Regions from separate parts of the Homo sapiens genome. Here region 2 is linked to region 1. The links are contacts of gene promoters, found by promoter capture Hi-C in blood cells and fetal thymus (Javierre and others, 2016). All regions are on one chromosome and are shown on one strand. The core of a region is centred on a gene start or on the middle of the fragment in contact, and the rest is flanking DNA. Distances in the headings are between cores, read along the strand shown. Region 1 holds the start of TCL1A (TCL1 family AKT coactivator A). Region 2 has its middle 15 kb from the start of LINC02318.

What was found. Contacts are between HindIII fragments. The CHiCAGO score rates a contact against its expected background, and 5 or more counts as called.
Region 2: a fragment that was not itself captured here is called in contact with the fragment with the promoter of TCL1A in region 1 in 2 of 17 cell types (naive B cells and total B cells); the score reaches 6.7 in naive B cells.

Annotation. Positions count from the first base shown.
Region 1 is chr14:95,712,329-95,718,332 of GRCh38, forward strand. It overlaps TCL1A (TCL1 family AKT coactivator A), which reads right to left and starts at 1,797. Exons shown (of 4, transcript NM_021966.3): 1 at 1,619-1,797; 2 at 1-68. The coding sequence starts at 1,738. LOC107984703 (a long non-coding RNA gene) reads left to right here and starts at 3,155. Exons shown (of 3, transcript NR_148060.1): 1 at 3,155-3,379; 2 at 5,143-5,240. RefSeq lists enhancers at 1-157, 198-417, 1,532-1,581 and a silencer at 1,812-2,051. The HindIII fragment of the contact is 7,267 bases long and covers 1-3,964 here.
Region 2 is chr14:95,555,808-95,561,811 of GRCh38, forward strand. No RefSeq gene overlaps it. Among named protein-coding and RNA genes, the nearest start is that of LINC02318, 15 kb to the right of the region's middle. RefSeq lists an enhancer at 1,865-2,364. The HindIII fragment of the contact is 8,364 bases long and covers 1-6,004 here.

The DNA.
Region 1 (6,004 bases), core at 547-3,046:
GTCATAGGCCTCCCCAGGACGACGTCTTCCCGACGCAAGAGCACCCGTAACTGTAACCTATCCTTTATCTGAGGAGAAGAAAAGGACAGGGCATACTTTCAGGTTCCGCTTGCCAGGGCTTCTCCAGGCGCAGAAAACCGGAATCCCTCCTGCCAGCCATCCACCCATCTGGGCAGGGGTCCGAGTGTGAAATGATGGTCATCACTGTTCCCTGAAGCTCACTTCCTTAGGCCATGCATGCTCCTCTCAGGGACTCTGGCTGGGCCAGGACCACCAGCACACACACGTGTCTAGCCACCCAGACAGGGCCATGAAAGGCACACTTTTTTCTGGCGGGTTGCAGCGGCTCACACTTGTAATTCCAGTGCTTTGGAAGGCAGAGGCAGGAGGATCGCTTGAGGCCAGGAGTTTAAGACCAGCCTGGGTCACAGAGCGAGACCCTGTATCTACAGGAAAAAAAAAAAACAACAAAGAAAGAAAGAGAGAAAAAGAATACTGGCCTTTTCAATGATGTGAGGCAAAATCTGTCCCACAGTTTGCTAGTGGGTTATTTTTTGTGGAGCATGTATCATGATTTTATGAAAAACTGTCTGGTTCGTGGTTTTGGTGTCACGTTGAAGAAGAGATTTCTCAGAGATTTAAAAAAAGAAATCCACTGAATCTTCAAATTATTTCTTCAAATTTTGATTTTAAAAAAGTAAGTATTTAACTTGATTTTTAAAGTAAAAACATATTTAAAAAATTGAAATGCCAATAAAAATGCAGATTTTGTGGTGGTTAAGAGCCTAGAATTCCAACCCCATTACCTACTAGCAATCTTACCTCGGACAAATGTACATTTTTGTGCCTCAGTTTCCCATCTGTAGAGACACAGTCAACACTCAATAATTTTTGATTGCTACTGGACATACGTGTTCTAATATATTTTTTAATTTTTATGCTTTCTTCAGTGTATGTTTGGAGAGAGTTTGAACATTTTTTGACTCTTTTTCATTGAGTAAATCCAAATACTTGTAAAAGACTTATCTATTTCTTTAACAAAAACTTAACATGGATTAAGGACCCATCTTAAGGCATCACACATTAAAAAAGTCAATATTGATTCAATACCGGCGCTTATACTACGACATCACTTGTTAAATTTGTTTTCTAAATAAAGCCCAGAGGTAGTGGAAAATACTTCACACTCTAGGCCAGTGTTTGCTATGCCTGGTTGACCCTAAACTGTTGAGGGTTCTTTTTAAAAATACAGATTTCTGGGACCCACCTGAGATGATTCCGATAATCGGCCATATGGATGAGTCACTTAGAGATACCCATTTTTAAGGATTAGGACCCCGAAGCCCAGAAAATGCCTGCTGTAGTCAACATTATAGTCACACTCCACAGGCACTGGGTCCACCCCTTTGACCGACATTCCTTTGCGGTTTTCCCACCCTTCTTCCCTGCCTGGAGAACTCCTATTCATCCTCCAGAGCCCGGCTCAAAGTGGCTTCATCTGTGGGGATCCTCCCTGCCCCATAGTGAGTGCTCCTTGAGTCCTCGCCCTTCCTAGGGCATCCCAAGCTCCCAGGGGCTGCCCCTGCTGCCTCGCCATCCGCTCCAAAGCTGGCTGTACCTCGATGGTTAAGGGCAGCCAGGCGTGCTGCTTCTCGTCCAAATACACGAACTTCTCCCAGGCCCACAGGCGGTCCGGGTGGTCGGTGACTGCCTCCCCGAGTGTCGGGCACTCGGCCATGGCGTCCTCGGGCCGCCTAAGAAGCAAGAGCCAGAGCCTCTCAAGGCCGCTCGCTGGTCCCTGGGATGTGGGGCCGACCCTTTATATCCGGGCAGCATGCGGCCGCCACCAAGCGGCGGGGCGGGAGGACGGCCTTGGGGCGGGACCCCGGGTCGGGAGAACGACCTTGGGGCGGGGCGTAAGGCAGGATGGGGCGGGGTTTGTGGGGGTCTTGGTGGCAAGTGAGGGTCCCGCGCAGGCGCTACGTCCCGGCCTGACTTGCTCCCTGGAACGGTGGCAGCTCCTGGGAACGCAGACCCGGCCCCAGCTGGCCCGCGCCTTCCTCGAGGCCCCGGCCAGCAGCGACACCGACCGCCGCCCTCTGCTGCTGCTGGAGAGGCACCGGGGTGACCTTGGCCCTTTCTTCTTCTGGAAGACCCCCCCGCTTCCCTCGGCTGCCGGACCGGGACTCTGGGCCTCTGCTGGGAACTCACAGTCGACACCAGGATGCCCAGAGCCAGGACCCACTCCTCATCTTATGGGATCAGAAGAGACCCGCGCGGGCCTGAGTTAGGCCTGGGCTTTCCCGGGTTCCCTGGATCTCCACCAGCCTGTGCCTTTGAGTGTCAGAGTACGTTTTTTGGCAAAGGACAACTCCTGACGCTCCCTCTCCCTCTTCCATACACAAAGCATGCGTTTTCCACAGGTCTGATGTGCTGTGGACATCTAATAGCTATTACAAAATGGAGAATCATGGGTTTTTGCCCTTGGGCTTTGAGTTTACTAGTGAAAGCATAGTTCGAAATGAATACTTAAAAAGAAATCCCTCCTTCCACCCTAAGATCAATGGATTTGAAAAGTGCCTGGTTTATATGATCAAAACCACCCCTCTGTAAATTACAAGCAATAAGGAAAACAATTTCACTTTATTTTGCAGTAACGCATTCCCACTAAGGCAATTAAGAAAGTCATGCACAATGAAAAACATGTGAAACCAGCTCCAGCCTGGTTCAAACATCACCATGGGATGGAGTTTGGTGTCTCATCTTCCAGCTCTTTCCCAGTTCTCTGACCAGGCACTAAGAACATAATTTGTGATCCTTTGAAATATCACCAAAGTGGAAATTAAGAGATCTGATGAGGACATCTGATTCACCTGGCAGCTGGGTATCTGCCTCTTTGCCTATCCAGAGAGCCTAATTCCCAAGAAGGGGCTGAGAGGGCCTAAGGTAGTCGAGACATAATGGGATTTACCAGGAACACAACATAGAAGAGAAAAGCCAAGGGAAGTTGGGGGTGGAGTGAGGGCCCTTGAGCTCAGCAAACCTCTTTTCCACTGTAGCCCTTAGTGGTGTTAATATTTAATATGCAAACTTAAAGGTTTCATGCTGATTTTCCTGTGAATGGCTCTTGACTCCAGACCTAGATAGCCACAGAGCAAGATGACAAGCTCGCTAATAAGCTCTGTTGGGGAGGTCTCAGCCCAGGCCAGAGCTGTGAAGTGAGAAATAAGTCCAGTTTAAATAGTGCTGCTGGGATGGACTTTTGTGGCCAGGGAAGGGGTACCCAGGAGCCAGTGTGGCCACTGACCCAGCCTCATCAATGGCCCTAGGATCCAGAATGCCACAAACAATGGAGCAAGAATCAGATCTGTGTGTCTGGGTAAGCAGAATGTTCTGAGAATATAATTCCTTTTTCCTTCTTTTGTAAGAACAATTTATTTCTTCAGTTTTGCATGAGGGCTTCTTAATATTGAGCAAGAATATACATCATTATTGCGTGAGATTTAGAAAATTATTTGAGAGAGGGTTCCAATAAATGAAAATGAATTAAGGATGTCTGTGGAGTTCATTGGGCAACTTATAGAGCCCTTGAGCTTTTTTAAGTGAACATTCCACAAGAGGGGAAACAGTAGCTATTGCATAGTCTCAGAGCTGTCTCTGAGCCTCCGTGGCATGTTATCTGCCCCATCTAAGGGTTATAAAGGCCATAAGCCTAGCTTTAGAATTTTATGTTCCTTTCCAAGTCTTTGTTAGTCTGATTTCCCTGAGGATAAGCAAATGGATGTTTCACACAGAAAGCTACAGGAAGCAATCATTTTGACAGAATCCTTAATGGATGCGTTCATGTCCTGATTTAGATCTAGTTTTGCCTTTACCACGATCACCTGTGAACTTGACAAATCCTTTGCAACTTGGCCTCAGTGCCATAGTTTTGTAATGAATGGGGCAAAATACCTGCTCTCTAAGCTTGTTTCTAACTCAGTAGGCCCCAATCCTCCTATAACATTGCCTAGTGGGAGGAGGGAATAGTTAAGAAAAGAGATGGACAAAATATATGATGTTAGTTCAGGAATGCCTACAGTTTTTGGTACAGTGGCTGTAGATCAAGGACCCCAGTGGAATTCATGGGAGCCATTCTTCTTGTTTGGGTTCCAAAGAAGGGGTTGAGGAGTAGTCAAGGCCATCAGGATGACCTTGACTCAAAGTGTTGTCCCTGGACCAGCTACAGTAGCATCACCTGGAGCTCGTAAGAATGACAGAATCTGGAGCCTCCCCCAAGACTACTGAGTCAGAATCTGTATTGGAACAAGACCCCCAGGTGATTCACGGGCATGGTAAATGTTGGGCTATATGGAGGGAGGGTCAAGAGGGAGAGATAGGGGGTGTCTGATTCAACACACCAGTGCCCTCCAGATTTCTCCAACTATGACACAGGACTTATATCGGTGTTTGTGTATCATTTACTTCCAGGCTATCTTATTTTCTGCCAAAATCACCTCTAATATATAGAGTGTTTTCCTCTTAAAAGAAAATCCTAGTAACCAAGGTCATCCTCACCAACCCTGGGGTCCTTGATTGTCAATGATTATAGCAAGCTGGAAAGAGCCTATTTAGAGGCTACTTAGGTGTTTAGGCCTTTGGGCCCTATGATGACTGAGCCTAAACCACTAAGAATCACCTGGGAAGCTTTAATGAAACACCTGCGCCTGGATCCCACTCCAAACCAATTACATCAGAATCTCCGAGATTGAGGCTTGAGAAAAGTAGGTGATGCTAACACGTAGGCAGGGTTAAGTACAATTTCTCTAAGATCTGAGTGACTGTTTTTGACGTGTGCACAGATTTATAAATCTAAATAACTACGAAAATGTCAAAGCTATTCTTTCTACCATCAATTCTCATTGTAAACTTCACCCCAACTCCATATTTTACTTCTTTCCCTTTGCCCTACTTTGCTGCTTCCAATCCTTCGTGGTCAGGGATCCATAGCCCTAAGTTTATTGGAATCATAAGGGTCTGAGATCTTGCTAATGTGTAAAACACAGAATCTGTGATATATATGTAGCTATTAAGGCATCCATGCCTGGAGTGTTTTGTTTGTTTGTTTGTTTTTTGAGACAGAGTTTCCCTCTTGTTGCCCAGGCTGGAATGCAATGGTGTGATCTTGGCTCACTGCGACCTCCACCTCCTGGGTTCAAGCGATTCTCCTGCTTCTGCCTCCCGAGTAGCTGGGATTACAGGTATGCGCCACCACGCCTGTCTAATTTTGTATTTTTAGTAGAAATGGGGTTTCTTCATGTTGGTCAGGCTGGTCTTGAACTCCTGACCTCAGGTGATCCTCCCACCTCGGCCTTCCAAAGTGCTGGGATTACAGGCATGAGCCACCGTGCCCAGCCTGTTTTTTTTTTTGTTTTTTTTTTTTTTTTTTTAGTTCCTAGGTCTGGGCCATAGTTGAAATAATTAAGGCTGCTGATCAAGTGAGTTCAGGGTACAAAAGATGTTGTAGCCTTTACTCATAAGGGATGAAATGGTATCTCTAAATTAATGGAGAATCTGAGACAAGGATATTTCAAGTAGAAATTAGGGACTGATCCTACTCTGCCCACTACATAGCTATCATCTCTCTCTTTAAAATTAACAGTTCTAAGGAACTTAAAGCTTCTCCAACTTTAAGGTGTATATGGAGATTTTATTTAAATACAGATTCTAATATGGTAGGGTTGAGGCGATTCTCAAGATTCTGAATTTGTAACATATTCATATCCTCGGAGTTGATACAGGTACTAATGGTCTATAAATCACCTCTGGGTGGCAAGGACCTATACTAACCCCCATGCTACCCTTGATACCCACACAAAACACAAATGAAAAACACAACTCACAACCCCTACTCAAAATGCAGCGAATAGTTGATTCTGCCAAGCTAGCGAGTGACCAAGATGTGATAGAATTGCACTGGACACTTTGAGCTACAACTGTGGTTGCCATTTGCCAGAGGCAAGTT
Region 2 (6,004 bases), core at 1,508-4,007, 160 kb before region 1:
CCCGCCTCAGCCTCCGAAAGTGCTTGGATTACAGGCGTGAGCCACCGCGCCCGGCCCAGGGATCATTTCTTGGTAACTTCTTACGAATTACCTCTACCACTACCAGGCAGACTTCGTGATTCTTGGACCCATGAACTTTCCCATTGTGCCTGGTGCATAGCTGGTCAAGACTGGAACATGCAGGCAAAGTCTTTTCTAACTCAGGAATGACCATGGAGAAACGAACAGAGTAGAGAAATGGGCTTACAAGACACGGTTCACTCACCTTGGACTTGCTGCCCACTTGTTAGACTTATTTCCTAGCTCAGACCCCTCACTCCCACCCCCAGAAGCTCACACCTGCATCTCTACTCCTTTAAGGATCCAAGCTAAGAGAAACACTTCTAACTCCTCTCTTCCACCTACCTGAGCGTTTCTCAGCAGGGATTTCTTGCCTAGGCTTCAGCCTCCTCCCTTGGCCAGTGTCCTTCGGAAAGACGCCTGACCTCTGTGCCACGTGGTAACCCCAACCCTCATCAACACACAGTAGGGAGACTGCGGAGGGATTGTTTTGTAGCAGGACATTGAGCAAATTGCTTCTCTTCTCTGCCTTTCAAAGACATCTGGATTTTCATTTATTTATTTTTGAGACACCGTTTCACTCTGTCCCCGAGGCTGGAGTGCAGTGGTGCGATCTTGGCTCACTGCAACCTCTGTCTCCCAGGTGCAAGGGATTCTCCTGCCTAAGCCTCCCGAGTAGCTGGGATTACATGCAGGTGCCACCATGCCTGGCTAAGTTTTGTATTTTTAGTAGAGATGTGGTTTCCCCATGTTGGCCAGGCTGGTCTCAAACTTCTGACCTCAAGTGATCCGCCCATCTCGGCCTCCCAAAGTGTCAGGATTACAGGCATGAGCCAGCGCACTGGGCCTATTTATTTAATATTTACATTTGAAGACTTTACCCAGTGTTGACTAATGGTAGCAGAGTTGGCCACTAGAGATACTGATTTAAAGCAGGAGCTTGGGCTGAACCCAGCTGAGAACTAAGAGCTGAAATGAACTTATACTAGCTAGTTGAACTCCAACTCTCATGGAACCGCTTTTTGTGTTTCTAAGTATAAGGGAAAACACTGCTTCCCATTTTTTCCCAATGGGAGGACTTTTGAAAACGTTTTGATAGTTTAAATATAAAAACCTTTATGGATGTGGATGACATAGTCAACTATATTAAATATATGGTACACCAACTATGTTAAATGTGTTTTAACACACGCTTAACATTTTACCAATGAGAGCATTGAGGAACAGAGAAGATGTGTAACTTGACCAGGGACACACAGCTGAAAAAGCGGAAGAACTAGAAAATATAAGGCCAGGCAATTGGCGCTGGAGCCCACAATCTATTAATTTAGCTACATTTAATATATCATCAAGTAATACATTTATTTACAAATGTTGCTTTTCTTCTCAGCTTGTGAAACAACTACTAAAATGCTCTGCTGGAATTTTCAGCATCAGTGTCTCTCATGACTGGAGCACTTTTTGAGCTCTGCCACAAGTTTCCAAGAGCAGCGCTTCTCAAACTTCTCAAACGTGATTGTGCATGTGACTCACCTAGGGATCTAATTCAAATGCAGATTCCTACCGCGCATGTCTAACAAGCTCCCAGGTGTCTCCGCTACTGCTGCTGGTCCACACACCACAGCATGAGAATCAACGTCAAGAGTGCCTTTCCTTGACTTTTTTGAGACAGGGTCTTGCTGTGTTGCCCAGGCTGGGGTGCAGTGGTGTGATCTCTGCTCACTGCAACTTCCGCCTTCTAGGCTCAAGCGATCCTCCCGCCTCAGCCTCCTGAGTAGCTGGGATTACAGGTGCACACAACCACGCCCGGGTAATTTTTTGGTATTTTTGGTAGAGACAGGGTATTGTCATGCTGCCCAGGCTAGTCTCGGCTGCCCAGGCTGCTCCCGAGCTCCAGCGACCCACCCGCCTTGGCCTCCCAAAGTGCTGAGATTACAGGCAGGAACCACTACACTCAGACTACCTTTACTTTTATTTAAGTTTTCTGAGCTGGAGCAGTTTTGAATCCATGTATGACCACTTCCATGAGCATTTTATCTTAAGCACATTAGGACACTGAATTTTTTTTTCTGTAGGTGTTTAACCATGGTCTCTATGATGTAACTACCCATCGATTTGCTTTTTAAAGTGATCTTTAAAAGGCTTGTTTACCGTATGAAAGAATGCTCAACATCACTAATCATCAGAGAAATGCAAACCAAAACCACAATGAGGTATCATCTCACACCAGCCAGAATGGCTATTATTAAAAAGTCAAAAAACAACAGATACTGGCCAGGCTGCAGAGAAAAGGAAACCCTTATTGGTGGGGATGTAAATTAGTTTACATTGTTTGGTGGGAATGCAAATTAGTTCAGCCACTGTGGAAAACAGTTTGGAGATTTCTCAGAGCATTTAAAACAGAACTACCATTCCACCTAGCAATCCCATTACTGGGCATATATCCAAAGGAAAATAAATCATTGCACCAAAAAGACACATGCACTTGTATGTTCATCACAGCACTATTCACGATAGCAGAGATATGGAATCAACCTAGGTGCCCATCAAAGGTGGATTGGATAAAGAAAATGTGGTATATATACACCATGGACTACTATGCAGTCATAAAAAAGAATGAGATAATGTCCTTTGCAGCAACCTGGATGCAGCTGGAGGCCATTATACCAAGTGAATTAATGCAGAAACAGAAAACCATATACCACATGTCCTCACAAATGGAAACTAAACATTGGGTACATATGGATGTAAACAAGGAAACAGTAGACACTGGAGACTACTAGAAGCGGGGAGAGGGAGTCGGGAAAGGGCTGAAAAACTACCTATTAGGTACTATGCTCAGTGATGGAATCATTCCTACCTCAAACCTCAGTGTCATTCAATATATCCGTGTAACAAACCTGCACATGTACCCTCCCAATCTAAAATAAAAGTTGAAATTATATATAAATATAAAAATATATATGTATATATAAATATAAAAATATATACATATGTGTATATAAAAATATATACGTGTGTGTGTGTGTATATATATATATATATTTTTTTTTTTTTGAGACGGAGTCTCGCTCTGTCACCCAGGCTAGAGTGCAATGGTGCTATCTCAGCTCACTGCAACCTCCACCTCCTGGGTTCCAGTGATTCTTTTGCCTCAGCCTCCTGAGTAGCTGGGATTACAGGCATGCACCACCACACCCGGCTAATTTTTGTATTTTTAGTAGAGACAGGGTTTCACCATGTTGGTCAGGCTGGTCTCGAACTTCTGACCTCGTGATCTGCCCGCCTGGGCCTCCCGAAGTGCTGGGATTATAGGCATGAGCCACCGCGCCCTGCCGAAATTCTATATTTTTTAAAAGGCTTATTTACAATGTCGTTCAACATTCCAGCTGGGATTACTAGCTGTATCTGGTTTAAACGTGTTTGGCCAAACAGCTCACCTTGAGGTCATTTCAGGCTAATGTGGCTTCCCCAGAAAGACTGTAGTTATTTAAACTAAAGTAATTGAAAGAGTGCCCAGTTATGTAAGAATCTGGAAAGATTAAACAATAAGCACCTATTCTTTTCAAGAGATAGTCTTGGGAAACGTGAATCTTGCTGATGCAGGCCTTTTGCTTACAGAACTCAGCTGGGCCATGCACTGGCTGTGCCCCAGCCCCCGTGGCTTCTTTCTCACGCTGTCAGGCTTGGACCCACCCTCTGCTCTTGTTCCTTCTCTTTGGAAATTCTTCTTTCCTACACATCTACCTTCTTCTCATGATTCAGATCTTAATTCAAAGAGGTCTTTTCTATTGTCCTGGCTGGAGAGCAAACCCCAGCTTATTCCACCAGAACCCCAGTCAGTATCATCTTTTTTTTGTTTTTTTTTGAGACGGAGTCTCACTCTGTCACCCAGGCTGGAGTGCAGTGGCATGATCTCGGCTCACTGCAAGCTCTGCCTCCCGGGTTCACTCCATTCCCCAGCCTCAGCCTCATGAGTAGCTGGGACTACAGGCGCCTGCCACCACGCCCAGCTAATTTTTTTTTTTTTTTTGTATTTTTAGTAGAGATGGGTTTCACCATGTTAGCCAGGATGTTCTTGATCTCCTGACCTCATGATCTGCCCACCTCAGCCTCCCAAAGTGCTGGGATTACAGGTGTGAGCCACCGCGCCTGGCCCAGTATCATCTTTTATTCTTCTTCCTTCTTCATGACATTTACCAATACCTAAAACGAGCTTGTATACAAATGCATGTATGTACACAAGCATGTATGTATATAACTACATGTGTGTGTGAGAGATGGTACAGCATGTTTACCTTTTGCCAGAATGCAACTTCCAAAAGGGCAGAAACTATGTCTGTCTTATTTTTCTAAGGGCTTAACACTATTTATTGAATAATTAACAAAAGCTCATTCCTTAGACTGTTTAGGATGCCATAACAAAATACTGTAAGCTGGGTGGCTATAAAACAACAGAAATTTTGGCCGGGTGTGGTAGCTCATGCTTGTAATCCCAACACTTTGGGAGGTTGAGGCAGGCAGATTGCTTGAAGCCAGGAGTTCAAGACTAGCCTGGACAACATGGCGAAAACCTGTTTCTACAAAAAATACAAAAATTATCCGGGTGTGGTGGTGCATGCCTGTAGTCCCAGCTTCTTGGAAGGCTGAGGTGAAGGGATTGCTTGAGCCCAGGAGGTGGAGGTTGCAATGGGCCATGACTGTGCCACTGCACTCCAGCCTGGGCAACAGAGCAAGACTCTGTCTCAAATATATATATATATTTCTCACAGTTCAGGAGGCTGGCAAGTCCAAGATCAAGGCCCCGGCTGATTTGGTGTTTAGTGAGGACCCACTTCCTCATAGCTAGCGGCTTCTTCCTATGTCCTTGCATGGTAGCAGGGATTAGGGTGTCTTTGCGGTCCCTTTTATAAGGGCACTAATCCCTCTGCTGAGGATTGCACCGTTACGACCTGATCACCTCCCATAGGCCCCATCTTCTAGTACCATCACCCTTGGGGTTAGTTAGGATTTCAACATAGGAATTTAGGGCAGACACAAACATTCGGACCACAGCAGGTTGCTTTTGGTTTTGTTTTCAATGCTAAGTGGATCAAATCCTTGCATAGTCTGAAATTTTACTCCAAAAGGTAAAATATCAGGCTAGCATTTCTTTGAGATGGCCTGTTCTAAATGCTTTTGTTCTGGTCTGACACAGTCATATCATGGGAAACCAGCAGATGGCGCTGCTTCTCCGGGAATGAGCCCCGTTATTGCAGGTGGCCTCCATCTGGCTCCCTTCTGCCTGCAGGTGCACTTCTTATGCTTCGCCACCACGCGGAGCCGCGTTCTGCACTCTCCACCTTCCCTAAGTAAATTCTCTATGTGAAAAACAAATCAGGGAGATTTCTCTATGTCCCCAGGTAGAGCCCGAGTCCCGTACATTCCACATTTTTTCTGACCTTGCATCCTTCCCATCATTTCAAGGGCCCGAGGGAGAGCGTTTGGGCTCCAGACAACACAATCATATCAGAAACGTCGAATGTGTCCACATCCATTTTTTTTTCTCTCTGGAAATGCTCCCTTTAATAGGCCAGAATAGGGCTTCGAGCTGTCCTAGAGAGAGGGGCAGGAATTTGGGCACTGAAGACCAGAATCAGAACCTGGCTCCCATTTACCTTGGACAAACCACTCAAGCTCTCGGAGCCTCAGTTTCCTCATCGGTAAAAAGGAGAAAATAATAGTGCCTCCTATCAAAGAATAAATAAAAGACATAGGTAATATAATAAGCCAATTAATTTGCTTATCTATGAGGGAAACAAATGATAGATTGACTTCTACATGGGTAGGATTTATATAGGAGACACAAGAGAGAGGGAAAAAGGCAAAAATTGAAAAATCCCAGACAGTTGGGGGTAGCCAACTTTGTTTTCCTTTCCTTAGTTGGGATGTGGAGTAGGTGGTA